Linked DNA regions of Homo sapiens: regions 1, 2, 3 and 4 are each linked to region 5. The links are contacts of gene promoters, found by promoter capture Hi-C in blood cells and fetal thymus (Javierre and others, 2016). All regions are on one chromosome and are shown on one strand. Each heading gives the region's core, a stretch centred on a gene start or on the middle of the fragment in contact. The rest is flanking DNA. Distances are from core to core; before and after follow the strand shown.

Region 1 (2,700 bases), core at 121-2,620, 920 kb after region 5:
CTGCGACAGACTGGAAACCACACATCCAACCCCTCCTCCAGACACTGCGTCCCAAACACCCCCACACCTCTCACTCCAGCCACAGCGCCCGCACCAGACCCCCACTACGGTAAACTCTACTCCAAAGTTGGCTGCGGACCTACCTCCTCGGTGCTGTCCGGAGAATCCAGCAAATGTACTCCTGTCCGTTCGCCCTTCCCTCGCCGGCGTCCCCTGCCCCCTCTCCTCACCTGGCCATGCCCCAAGCTTCTGGGGAGCCTCATTCACCCCTCCGAGACCGTCCCCAGGTGCCCCGACTCCGGGGATCAAAGATAACCCCCAAAGCCTCGCAGCGGAGGCTCCCCCTGCCAACCCCTTGCCCTGGAGCCCGCAAGCGCACTCCGACGAATCCGAGACGCGTCTCGCGCTGCGCAGGAGGCCCGGCGGGTCCTGCTGCCAGCCCGGGGTGGGTACGCACCTTCCAGCCGGCAGAGCTGTTGCTGTCGCCCTTATCCTTGAAGTAGGGCACGCAACGCACCATCCACTCGTAGATCTGGGACAGAGTGAGCCGTTTGTCCGGGGAGCTCTCGATGGCGCGGGTGATCAGGTCCGCGTAGGACAGGTTTCCCCAGGCGTTCCGCCGCGACGAACATTTCCTCGGCTGCCCGGAGCCCCCAGCCGCCCCCGGCTGCGGCGGTGGCAGCGGTTGCTGAGGCTGCAGCAGCGCCTGTGTACCCCCGCTCAGCCCGCCCGCCGCGGTGGCTGGCCCAGACCCGGGGTCTTGCCCTCCGGGTGCCAGCACCCGGGCCGAGTCCTCAAGGAGCAGCCCGGAGCCCAGCGTGCCGCTCCCGCCGCCGCCGCCGATCGCCATGGCCGAGCCGGCCCGTCCCCCGCCGTCCTCGTCGTCTTCATCGTCCTCCTCCTCGGGGATCATGGAGTCGGCGGCCGTCTCCCCCGAGGGCTTGGCAGGGCTCGCTTGGAGCTCCGGCCTTTGCAGGGGCCACGTACAGGATCGCGGACGGCTCTGGGGCTCGAACTCCGGGTCCAGCTCCACTTCGAGCGGAGAGAGCGGGGCCGGGGAAGCCGGTGCCTCTGCCATCTTCGCCGCCCGCCCGCCCGCGGCTGGGGCTCTCGCGCTCTCCTCTCGCGCCGGGGCGGGGTGCAGCGGGGGAGGGACGTGGACGCCGCGAAGGCTCCGGCTCCCGGGCGCCGCCGCCGCCGCCTGGGGAAGCACCAAAGAAGAGAGAAGGAGAGTTGGTTATCCCGGGCCGGAGCCCCGTCCTCGGCGAGTCCTCGCCCGCTGCCGCCACCTCCCAGTCCTGCCGCGCCCGCCTCCCAGGAACAGGAGGACCTGAAGACGTGCGGCCAGCGAACCTGGCGCAGCAGACACCGCCCCCCGGCCAGGCCGCGATGGAGCCGCGAGCGAATCGACGGCCTCGCGCGGGGCAGCCCCCTCCCCCCGCCGCCCAGCCGCAGGTCCCTCCCGGGCTAGGCGGCGGGGCGGGGAGAAGGGGGAGGGGCGCCCGGGGGAGGGGCGGCCGCGCCTTTAAAGCGGGCAGCGGCCGGAGCTGGCGCAGCCGAGCCGCGGTCAGAGCCCGAGCTCGGGTGTGCGTGCGTTTGTTTATGTTTCGCTCGGGCCCGCTCTAGTGCCTCCCGCGGCGCCGCCGCTCAAGTCTGTGCTGTCTTCGGCTCTTCTCCCCTTTCCTAGCCTGGCCGCCTCCGCGACCCCCCGTCACCCCCCACCCGGTCGAATGGCCCGAGCCCGGGGACTGCGCGGGCAGCTCCCTCTCCCCTCTTCGCCCGCGGGCCAGAGGGCGAACGGGGGTCTGGGCGCAGATGGGCCCTTGTCACTTCCAAAAAATAAAGGAAAGACAGAAAGAAGGGGGAGCAGCAGCCCAGCGGGTGTTCGCAGAGGTTCGAGCCCGGCGGGGACGGCCACTTCGGGGTTTTGTGTGGTTTGCATTCTCGCGGACGTCGTCCCCTCCGCCCCCTTCCCAGTCGGGATCCGGGGGAGGGAGCGAGTCGGAACATAAATCTTCCAACAGGTCGGGAAGCGCCAAGTCTCCCGGGCTGCTAGAAAACCCGGACCAGCACGTTCATCACCTCCTTGCTCCCGCTGCTGCCATCTTGACAGTTTCCCCCTTCCCGAGTCCTTTAAAAACACTAGCGGGCGAGAAGGGGGGCGCGCACACCGCGGCTCAGGGAGGGGAAAGGGAAGCGCCCGGCCCAGCTCGGAAGCAGATCCGGAGTCACCGGGAAGGCGGCCGCCCGCTGCACGGCTCCGGCGCCTACCTCGCTTCCTTCCCTTCAGGGACGCGGCGGGACGACGCACGATCCCGCGCGGGCCCGGGGCACGGCGAGGAGGGGGCGCGCAACCTCGGCGAAGGAGAAGCGCTCGGGCCGTCGCCGCAGCCCGCCCGAGGAACCGCCTGTCAGCTCGCGCGCCGCCACCTTCCACATTCCTCCTCCTCCCTTCCACGAGCAGGGCGGCCGCGGCAGCAGCACAAAGTTATAGACACACGCAGGGCGCCTCAACCTAGGCTGACGGCGGGCGGGTCCCCGCCCAGGGGGAGGGCTGGGCGGCGGGCTGGGCGGCGGGCCGGGCGCGCGGCGGGCGTGCGTGTGTGAGTGCGCGTGTGTGAGCTCGCGCGCGCCTGCGCGGCCCGGCTCCGCGGGGCTGCGGGCGTGGGTGTCCGGGCGCGCGCCGTGGGCCGGGACTCG
Region 2 (2,700 bases), core at 86-2,585, 580 kb before region 5:
AGGGTAAGGAGACTTTGTGTGAGCCGCCAGCCACCAACGCTCCATCCCCTCTTGCACCAGCTGAGGAGGGCTTGGGCTGTGCACTATAGCAACAGTACACAACTATAGTATAGAGTCCCCCAACAGGCCAGTGGGAGCCGACAAGCAGGTGCCCTTTCAGCAAAGATCTAGGCTGCAGAAGACTCATTCTTCTGGGACTTCGGTAAGATCCAAGGAAGGGAAAGCTTCCTTCATCACCAAGACTGACTTTTCTCCTAGCCAGGTGGGTGGGGGCCCAGAGTGGTTTATCTAATTTAGTGAAGTAGATGAAAAGAAATTTATGGAGGAAATTTCATACTCAACTCACATATTTAGTATTTAACAAATGCCTGGATTTAGTGGGCACACAATAAAATAATCCATTCCTTTTTTATCCCCTTTTGTCAGGGATATACCTATACCTTTTAACCAGCTGAACCTTTTCTTGTTAAGAAAACAAACTGGAAAGAAAGACATACTTTTTTGTTAGCGTTGCCAATCAATTACAAACATTGATTAACTATTTACTATGATAGGTTGCTAGCAAGATGGTAAAACTAGCTCAAGCTGCTTGCTAATCAATGCTGTAGAAAAACAGAAGCAATGGGGAAATGTACATTTGGGAAAACAAACAAAAACAACAATGAAAGCAACAAACAAAACTCCCCAATAAACAGGAGCCATGGTGGGGCAGGCATTCCCGGGGCTTCATTGTGAGCCTCTCCTCTCGGGTACCCTGCGTGGAAAGCACCACCTCAGCACTGAGGGGAAGCCCCATCACCCAGAGCCCTCTGTCACATCCTCCTGGAGCCTGGCATTTTGCTGTTGAAGTTGCAAAGGCATTTGAAGCTCACCTTAGTGGCCTAGGGCTTCCCACTCCCCTTTGGGAATTTTTGACATGAAAGCAGAAAGCCTAGCACAAAGAAGTGTGTGGTGTGTGTGCGTGTGCGTGTGTAATGAAATTGTATGCCTGGGGCATGAAGATTTTCTTGAACTGCAGTTTGTGGAGGGGTGGCTATATCCCAAGGTGGAGAAACCCCGAAGCAGCAGTGAAGAGACTGCCTGGAGAAAGGCAGTCCTTTGCCACCTCCTCAGTGCAGAGCTCTGTGGCAGCAGCCTGGGCTATTGGTGCAGGTGTCTGCAGGGCAAGTTCATGGCAGCATCAAAGCCCTGCCAAAGGGGAAAAGTGATGAAAACAGCTGTAGACTGAACAACTAACCTCCTACATTCATCCATCACATCCTCTCCACAGCCCAAGTGATGGGGACCATCTCTTTTCTATCTTGCCTTATCCTAAAGGTTTTAAGATGAAACCTTGACCAGAGAAGTTTTCTGGCTACTCTAAGCCAACAGCCCACAGGAATCAGTCGTGATTCCACGGTGCATAGGGCTCTCCACCAAGAGCCTAAGCCATCATTGGGCTTTTCCCAATACACATCACAAAACGGAACAGAGGAAACATTACCAGGTAGGGTAAGTAGAGGAGAGGAGAGAAAAAGAAGTTCAAAAGCCGAAATGACTAGAGCAATACAACTACCAAATGAACAAGCAAACTGCACAACATGTACCATCTGGCAGAAGTATTTGAACAGGTGGACCAAGAATTTAAAATAAGCATTATAAATATGTCTCAAGAAATAAGAAATTACATTAACAAAAATAAAAATCACACAAAAGAACCAAGTAGAAATATTAGGTATGGAAAAGGCAAGCAACGAAATAACTCCATAGATGGGGTAACTAGTAGGATGGATATAGCTAAAAAGCAATTAGTTGGGAGATCAGATTGAAAAACTCTCCCAGAACACAACAGAAAAGGGTAAGAGGAGAAAGAAAATATGTAGTTTTTAAAAACAAGCTGAGATATGGAAGACAGAGAAATGTCTACATCTGCATCAGATACCTAGAAAGAAAAAAAAGGAAAAATGACAACAGGCAATATTTGAAGACATAATGGGGATAAATTTTCTGGAATTAAAGAATTATATCCCACCAATACCTTAATCAAATGTAACGACACAATAAAAATATTCCGAGGCATATACAGCTTCAGAAGTTTTTTCCACAGGAAGATCCATTCTTGAAAACACTTTGAGAAGTCCTTAAATAATAAGAGAAATAAATCCACACGGTGAAGCAAGTTATAGGAAGAAAGGGTAATCACATATCTTGGTAGAGTTTACTATTGTCTTAAAAATTAGAATGGGAGGGAATATATTTATATAGCATCCCAGAACTAAAGTTCTATCAGCATGATGTAGCAAAATGAGAGGAAGCCCAGGGGAACATGAGATTCATAGTAAAGCAAGAAAGATGATCTAGACATTGCTAAGTTTAATGAAACAATAGATATAAACATGAGTATGGAAGGTCAACCACCGTAAGGCAAAAGCAATGTATAATTTTTAGTCTTACAGAAGAAAGCTTGTTCTATTCAATGGAATTTAGGAACAGAGAAAAGAAAAAGCAGAATAAAGCAAGTGGAAAATAAGACAATGGAACAAAATCCTAATTTAGCAGCAAAAGGGTTAAACTCACCAAAGACACTGTCAGATTGGATTAAAAAACAAAATATAATACAACAATATGCTGTCTTAGAAGCACACACTGAGGACAGTAAAACAGAAAATTGAGAATAAAATTATATAGAAAAATATATACCAGGTAATCATGAAGTAAAAC
Region 3 (2,700 bases), core at 108-2,607, 730 kb before region 5:
AGTAAATCTCTATCTATAATAACAAGTCAACAGATAAAATCTAAAATAAAAAATAGTAGAATAAGTTTATTCATCTTAGATATCACCTGTTTATTTCTATTACTATAAACATGGATTTACTGGATGTAAGTAACAGCTAGAATATAAGCTTCATGAGGTCATGATTTTCTTGATCTTGTCCACTGCTGTATGCCTGGGACCTAGAACACTCTCTGGCTCATGGAGACAGTGAGATTAGGAGGTGAGGAAGGGAACGGCAGAGCATTTACTTTACAAACTTTATAGTAGTTTTTAAGATATATATAGAGATAAAATTTGTTGAAAATTTTAAATAAATTCATAAATCAATAAAATTTATAATCAATTCTAGTGTCACAGAAGGCTGATTTTGTAGTTACTATCTGAATGTCTAGTATCAGAAGAGTAGCTACCATGGCAGCTTAATAGCAATATCAAGGAAATCTTTATGAAAATTGTTCAATATTGTATTTTAATAAAAAAGCATGAGAGAAAACAAATCAGCAGAAAAGGTAAATAAAAATATCCCAAAGAAAAACAAATAAATTTTATTGTATATTTTCAATCAACTAAAGGCAGAAAAATTTTGATGAGTCATTTGGTTCTCTAAAGAAATCTCAAGTTTATTAATGTAGATATCCTTCATAGAGATACAGCGTATACCTGAATTGACAATTAAAAACATCAAAGCTTACTTCTGAAGGTTTGGCTACATCTTTTTCATCCACATATTTTGCCCATGGTCCCAAAAAACCATCAATATTGGATGCATCATTTTCTTTAAACTTTTTCCTCTTTTCTGTTTTCTTCTGACCAGTTTCAAATACAGTTAAACCTACGTTAACAAAAAAAAAATTAAAAAAAAAACTGAGAGATTACAAAGATGTACATTTTCTAAAGAAATATGAACATATGTTTAATTTTATTTTATATGGTTAAAGAAAGATGATTGTTCAAGTGACCCCAGAGTTATTAAAAAACAATCTACATGAATCTACCATATACGCTGACTCATGCTACAGAAAAAGGGATTCAACCTTCTGGGCAAAGACACTTAAAACTAATTCAATATTCTGCAAATTCTAATACTGTATACTTAAAGAAGAGACCCAAATATGTACTCCTACAATGGCGCACAAGCCTTTTATTGAATCAAAAAGCTGTGTCAGTGGATTTGTACGACTTTCTGGAAAAAACTCAGAAACTCATTATTGCTAAGTAATAATAAAGTGACATTTGGAAGCAAGAATAAACTGTAATTTATCATTTTAAAACTAAATTAAACTAAATTACTGTAAGTACTTAATAACTTATCTTCACTTCACTTGTAATGCAAAAATGTAAATCAAACAAGGTTTCACCAGAAATGGTATTCCTTCCAAGTGATTTCAGTCTCATCTTGACCTCTAATATCATTAACGTTAACAGTAAAAGAAAAGGAGAAGGAGGGTGTTTCTGGTTGAGATTTTGATTTGATTAGTAGGAGGTGGCATACTGTGTATAGTCATTAACTTGGAAAAAGAAAGGTTTGTGGAATCATAGTCACAAGTTAACTAAGAATCTAGCTACCTTTAGATGGGACTTGCAGAGGTCTAGCTTAAAGAAGAAATGTCTACCTATATTAATTCAGGCTATGTTTTATAGCAAAAGCCTGTTAAAATTCTATTTTAACAATAATCTAGCTCATATACAGAGACCAGCCAGATCACATAGGATCTATAGCTACTAAGCACAAATGTCCCATGCAACCAACCAGCAAATTACTTTTTAAATTGCATTTTATGGATAATATTCTAATGGACTGATGAGGCTTGTGACAAGTTAGCGTTTAGCGTATGATGTTTTGTCTTATTGTAAGTACAAAATGAATATGAATACAAGCATACATACAACACATATTCAAACTCAACCTTCAAAGCAACTCTTCAAAGACAATCTTCACAGACTTACCAAATAAAGTATTTCTACTCTGTTAAAATGAAGCTTGACATTAATGTTGAGAAATCAATTGCCAAAATTATCTATACATTAGTTGTAATTTATTGAGTGATTTCTACAGGGTTGGCATGGTGCCAAGTACTCAAAGTAACTCAAAGAGATATGTATCATTATTTTCCCTACAAGATTCCACAACTAGTAAGCGGCAAAAGCAAGCTCTAAACTGTAACATTTCTGAACTATATTGCTCTAAACTGTATCGCTCCATTGTTTCAACTTTAAAAAAAAAAGCGCTAAATACTATTTTTTACTGTCTAATTAAAGTCACTCTGCAAGACACTAATTATAGATGTGTAGGTATATATGATATCAAATGTTTCAAATAAATTACCTTGATTTTTTTCAGCTTCTTCTACAGAACCAATATATTTAGCAGACACTTGATGATTATCTAATGAAGGGTCTAATGCATAACCTGAAAGCAAAAAAGTGAAAATTATTAACTCCATTTTGCTGTTTAAATTCATTTTATTATTATAATACAAATATACACATTTCACATTTTCTTTCCCAGATGTCAAAAATGATCTCTAACTCAGGACCAATCAGGACCAATCATTCTGCCCTGAGCTATATTGCTTCCTTTTTTTTTTTTTTTTTTTTTTTGAGATAGGGTCTCACCCTGTCACCCAGGCTGGAGTGCAGTGGTGTAATCTCGGCTCACTGCAACCTCCGCCTTCCAGG
Region 4 (2,700 bases), core at 99-2,598, 910 kb before region 5:
CCAAGGAGGCCCTATGCTGACCGCAGCACTGGCCACACTGAGCTACTTGCCCTGTACTTTCCTCGCCCCTCCTCTGATTAGGCCTCTCTGTAACTTTCTCTGGGGGAGTCCTCTAATGCCCATCTTTTTCTTCTCCTGTATCTTGTGTTCTCCTGCTCGGCCTGACTCACAGCAATGCCTGTGAAAGAAACTGGCTTCCTCAGCACCATCATTAGCCCCATTAGCCAGCCATGTCTGCCCTGGAGCTCACCAGGAGCTCGTCTTTTCCCCTGTCCCCGCTGCCAGCCACAGGCTGTCCGCATCACAGCCCCCACCTCCCTGTTTAGTGCTACCTGAGATTCCTTTCTCGCCATGGCTTCAGCTTCAGTGGAGTATGGGAATTGCCTCTGATTCCAAGAGCAGAGAGGGGATGAGGGGACTCTGCTCCTGGGAGGCCAAGTGTGTGTGTGTGTGTGTGTGTGTGTGTGTGTGTGTGTGTGTGTACGCATTTAAGATTTGCTTAGTGGACCCTTATTTTCCTCAGGGGCACAGCCAACTCAATTTACCTCCTTGCTGAAACTCCCAGTGAGGTGAAGGAAAGGCGCTGAGGATGACCATCCTCCTTGTTTGTGGGTCAGGTTGATGCAGTCCAGCAGAGGGCTAACTTAAGCTTGGGGAAATGGACACTCTCATGTTTTAGGGTGATGACCAGAGGATGCTGGGGCTATTTCGTGAGCCCTGCTTCTTGAGTGCCCCTAACCCTATTTCCTCATGGGAGGTTGGGACAATGGTATTCTCTCTCTCCAGGATGAGGTCTTGCTCAGTTGCAAGAAGCCCCAAGAGGAAAGTCATCATGCTTCTTGTACCTCCAACCATGTCACCCCAAACTTCCAGAATAACTACCTCATATGGTCATAAAAGCAGCCTGGTAGGCACTTGGTCACCTAATTTAACATCTGACTTTTGGGTACAGTTTCCTCCTATGCACTGGTGCCATCTTATGCATTACCCATGGGATACATAATAATGACTGGGCATCACTATGTGGTTGCATTACAACAACATAAAGGTGACCAGTCTCCAGGCACATTTAGTGAGTTTTCCTCTGGGATCCAAGGCCTGGGAGCAATCCAGCACAGGAAGCCTGACAAGGCCCAGCCACTAGGATAGCTTAAGAAGTCACCAGGCACAAGTTGGACTTTTATCAGTAGCTTGACCAGCAGGGAACCCTTGAAATGGAAAAGAAAAGACATTTGCACTTATTGAATTCTTGCATAATCATCATAAAAACCCTATAAGTTAGGCATTCTTATCCCTAGGAAACAATTTCAGTGAGTTTTAAAAATCTGCTGATATCCCAAGGCTGGCAGATTCTCTTATTCCCCCAAATTATGAAAATAATTCTGAGTTTTAATTAATTAGGATATCTAGAGCACAGAACATAATGTTCAAATATTAACACATGGAATCTACAATGTAAGAATTTAAAAAACCCACAAAATCAAAATAATATTCAAATAATGATCAGTTAAAACTTTTCAAAATTGAAATATCATCCTTAATGAAACATAAGTGATATACAGGTATGGAGGATAAGAATACACATAGATAATGCACTGGGTCTTGTATTTTACAGTAGCATGAAAAACCCCTAAGCACTTTTTTAAAAATAAAAGGTCTTTATTGAGCAGCTATAGTGTGTTAGACACAGTGTTATGCTTTTTCCAGATGTGTCTCATTTCATTTTCACAACGAGCCTAGAGAGTCAGTATTACTACCCCCATATTATGGATATAAGATTAAAGTTTAGAGAAGTGGAATAACTTGGCCGAGGTCATATGAATGGTAAAGGGTAGAGGCCTCCTAAGCTCTTTTTAAAGTTCTTTTCTTCGTGTTCACTTTTTGGAAGATTATAAACACACAGAAACATGCTGCTCAGTATTACTACAAAACTCCAATTTACTTTTCTTTCTATGCCAATGTTAAGGGGAAAAACAACCTTTACAGTTATTTTACCTTTAAAAACATTTATCTATTATTACATGTTTAAGAACATAATTTAAGCTTCTAAATTGGTTATTCTTACTGAGAGAGCCAAAAACAATCTGTCCCCATAAAATTTGCTATATTTAGTACTTTTTATCTATGAACAGTTTTACTTATAAAACAAACAAACAAACAAACAAACAAACAAAACAGTAGCTCCAGCTTCATTCTCTCTCTTTTAACTACTTTTAATTACATCAAAAAGTAATCCATTGGCTTTATTGGTTCTCTGTGGCCCCAAAGTGTAGATGCTTGCCAGATTCTTTTCTTTGGTTTCCTTGTCTCAGGTAAACAATATACTCCCTTCCTTGGATTTTTAGAATAAAAAGCAACCGAATTTAGGTTCTGTTGTTTGAAGCATTGATGCTGGCAATGCAGCTTGCATTTAATAGGAAGTGCAGTGCAGGTTCATGTGATCTCAGAGCAAGCATAGCCTCTGAGTTCTTCTTGCCTCCTAAGGGTGCTGGGCACAGTACAAGCCCTCAACAAATACTTGTTGAATAATCAGTGAGTCTAATCCAGAGGTTTCAAACTGTTCTTGAAACTGCTCGGTGGACATACTTCAGAGGTCTCTGCAGAGGGAGGGAGTGTGAAGAGACTGAGCAGATGGAGCTCTGCCCAGCAGCTTGACCTTCAGTCAGATGCAGAGAACTGCAAAGATGCTGAGATGACAGC
Region 5 (2,700 bases), core at 149-2,648:
CTAGTTTTAATAAAATCTAGTAAAAATGTAAGAGCCAGGTTGCTAATTACACCTCCGGTTCAAGATCAGGGAGGCTATAGATGGCATGTTGGGAATCTGGAAATGGGCAGAAAAATAAGTAATTAGGTATTGGCTAAGAGAGAGAAAATGCTGAAATAAATGGATGGAAGCAGGTGGGGAGTAGATCTGGATGGGGCTTGTAGACCACATTAAGAAGCCTGGACTTTATCCAGAGGGCATGTGGGAGCCACATGGATTCTAAGCCAAGGAGTGACTCTAGTCTCTGGATCTCATATGTACTTGGAGAAATCCTCTGTACTTCTGCGAATTAAAGAGAACAACGCTGCAGCTGAGACCAGTTAGAAACAGTCTATTGAACAAAGATGATGAAAGTTTGAATAATAATGATCATTTTAATCACAGCAGACGAATTAAACCAGGCATTTCCTAAGCCCATTACATACTTAATTTTGTTTATGCAATAGCAACCCTACCAAAGTGGCACTAGTGTTAACATCTCCATTTTACAGGTAAGGTAAAGAAGTTGTGAGGGTAAGTAATTTGCCCAAGATCTCTCAGAACCCAGGTTTCTCTGACTGCAGTGCTCTCTTCATTCCCTTAGACTAAGGCATCAGGAGTGGGGAGGAAAAGGAGGCAGATGTGAAAAACATTTAGGAGGTAAGTAATAGTTATTATATTAGCACTAGATAATGACGATGGTGATGATGATGACAATGATGATGACGGTAAGGGGGATTTCATGCCTTTATACATTCAAGAACAACACCAGATTCGGTGTCGGAGAAGAGATAAAATTAAGGTATTGGCGTTGAGCTAACAGTTTAATACGATATAAAACTTCCCAAAGGGAGGGGTCACAACGCCTCTCCTGTCCATTGCCCCCAATTCACCGCAAAAGTCGCTCCTGCCTGGGCTCCCCGGCAGTGCCACACGCAGGACCTCGGGCGCCGACACCGCCCCGCCCCTGGCCGCGCCCCGCCCCGGCCACTGTCCCTCCTCCGAAGCCGCGCCCCTCCCCGCCCTGCCCCGGCCCCGGCCCCGGCCCCGGCCCCAAAGCCCCGGGCCTGCCATCTCGCCCCGCCCTGCCCCGCCCCGCCGCGGCTCCCCCGACCCCAGGCCTGCATTCTCGCCCCGCCTTGCCCCTCCCCTCCCCTGCCACGCCCCAACCCTTGAACTGCCTTCGCGCCCCGCCTTGCCCTGCCTTGCCCCGCCTTGCCCCGCCCCGCCCCGCCCCGCCATCTCGCCCCGCCCCGCCCCTCACCTCCCTTCCCCTCCCCGCCGCTCTCGTGGCCCCCACCTCCAGGGGCGCCTCTGCGGGCCACGTGGTTCGGCGTCCGCGCGCAAGCGGCTCTTGGCGCCGCGCTTCCGGGTTGGCTGTGGCTGTGGCTGCGGCGGCGGCGCAGGAGCAGAAACCGGTGCGGCGCAGAAGCCCCAGAGGCGGGCGGGGCGGAGCGGAGGGCCAGCGGGCCCCGGCGTGGGTCTCCCGCCAGGCCGCCGGGTGAGTTGGCAGCGACCCGGACCCCACCGGGCGCCCCTGAGCGGTAGGTCTGCCGCGCCGACCCCTCCCCCGCCGTGTGCTCCCCAGTCGGGCCCGCGGGGCCTGGGCGGGGAGGTGGGGGTCTTTCCGCGCCACCTCTCCCTGCTGGGACCACCCGGGGCTGCGGGGGGCTCCGCGCCGCCCCTAGTGTGTCTGGCGGCCCCACGCAGCTTAAGTTATTAGTATTTTATTGCAGCTACCTCACATTCACTTTGCACGTGCACATTTCTTCACTCTTCACATTGGTTCCCACATACGAAATGGCTAATAATCTGGGAGATGGAGGCAGCTTCGTTCTCCCTGAAATAGTTGTGCAACCATAGAAAGTTCGTGCTTGCGGAGGATTTTGGAGATGGTTAATCCCATTCCTTCATTTTATAGAAGGTAGACCCTGAACCGTTCCATGAATACTGGAGAGTCACTCAGCTAGTTAATGTGCGGCAGGAGGCTGAGGGAGAGAATTGCTTGAACCTGGGAGGCGGAGGTTGCAGTGAGCCGAGATTGCGCCACTGCACTCCAGCCTGGGCGATAGAGCGAGACTCCGTCTCAAAAAAAAAAAACCGCGAGCTAAGTTGTTTTGTTTTTGTTTTTTGAGGTGGTGGTCTCGTTCTGTCGCCCAGGCTGGAGTGCAGTGGCACGATCACGGCTCACGGCAACCTCGAACTCCCAGGCTCAGGTGATGCTCCTGCCGCAGCCTCCTGAGTAGCTGGGACCACAGGCGGGCGCCACCACGCCAGGCTAATTTTTGTATTTTTTGTATAGATGAATTCTCTCCATGTTGCCCAGGCTGGTCTCAAGTGATCCGTCGGCCTCGGCCTCCCAAAGTGCTGGGATTACAGGCGTGAGGCCACTGCGCCCGGGCCCAGAGCTAAGTTTGTAGACAGACAAAAATGGTAATGGTAAAATTCAGTTAATGATGTGAAGTGAATAGGAAGTTCATGTGGGCTGGCATTAACCTTTTAGACAGTGCTTTCTCCTTTTTAAACCTTGTTTTCTTATTTCAGATTTAACCCTTAGTGGCTTCTGAAGAAAATGGCAGAAACATCGCCAGAGCCTTCTGGGCAGCTTGTTGTACACTCAGACGCTCACAGTGACACTGTGCTGGCCAGTTTTGAGGATCAGAGGAAGAAAGGCTTCCTCTG

The links. The method cuts DNA at HindIII sites, captures the fragments that hold promoters and counts their contacts. A CHiCAGO score of 5 or more calls a contact.
Region 1: a contact is called between the fragment with the promoter of FOXO3 here and the fragment with the promoter of ZBTB24 in region 5, in 11 of 17 cell types (naive CD8 T cells, total B cells, non-activated CD4 T cells and 8 more). The highest score is 15.2, in naive CD8 T cells.
Region 2: a contact is called between a fragment that was not itself captured here and the fragment with the promoter of ZBTB24 in region 5, in 1 of 17 cell types (neutrophils). The highest score is 6.8, in neutrophils.
Region 3: a fragment that was not itself captured here is called in contact with the fragment with the promoter of ZBTB24 in region 5 in 2 of 17 cell types (total B cells and naive B cells); the score reaches 6.9 in total B cells.
Region 4: a fragment that was not itself captured here is called in contact with the fragment with the promoter of ZBTB24 in region 5 in 2 of 17 cell types (megakaryocytes and fetal thymus); the score reaches 5.4 in megakaryocytes.

Annotation. Positions count from the first base shown.
Region 1 is chr6:108,559,587-108,562,286 of GRCh38, reverse strand. It overlaps FOXO3 (forkhead box O3), which reads right to left and starts at 1,370. Exons shown (of 3, transcript NM_001455.4): 1 at 458-1,370. The coding sequence starts at 1,078. RefSeq lists an enhancer at 393-893 and silencers at 1,337-1,556, 2,536-2,605, 2,646-2,700. The HindIII fragment of the contact is 5,662 bases long and covers 249-2,700 here.
Region 2 is chr6:110,059,282-110,061,981 of GRCh38, reverse strand. No RefSeq gene overlaps it. Among named protein-coding and RNA genes, the nearest start is that of GPR6, 82 kb to the right of the region's middle. The HindIII fragment of the contact is 2,218 bases long and covers 227-2,444 here.
Region 3 is chr6:110,207,237-110,209,936 of GRCh38, reverse strand. CDC40 (cell division cycle 40) reads right to left here. Exons shown (of 15, transcript NM_015891.3): 4 at 2,348-2,431; 5 at 714-853. Among named protein-coding and RNA genes, the nearest start is that of CDC40, 28 kb to the right of the region's middle. The HindIII fragment of the contact is 1,293 bases long and covers 711-2,003 here.
Region 4 is chr6:110,396,166-110,398,865 of GRCh38, reverse strand. All of the region lies in intron 4 of DDO (D-aspartate oxidase), which reads left to right. Among named protein-coding and RNA genes, the nearest start is that of DDO, 18 kb to the left of the region's middle. The HindIII fragment of the contact is 1,394 bases long and covers 652-2,045 here.
Region 5 is chr6:109,481,917-109,484,616 of GRCh38, reverse strand. ZBTB24 (zinc finger and BTB domain containing 24) reads left to right here and starts at 1,398. Exons shown (of 7, transcript NM_014797.3): 1 at 1,398-1,519; 2 at 2,563-2,700. The coding sequence starts at 2,591. It overlaps ZBTB24-DT (ZBTB24 divergent transcript), which reads right to left and starts at 973. Exons shown (of 4, transcript NR_187591.1): 1 at 1-973. RefSeq lists silencers at 898-1,337, 1,418-1,707. The HindIII fragment of the contact is 11,956 bases long and covers 1-2,700 here.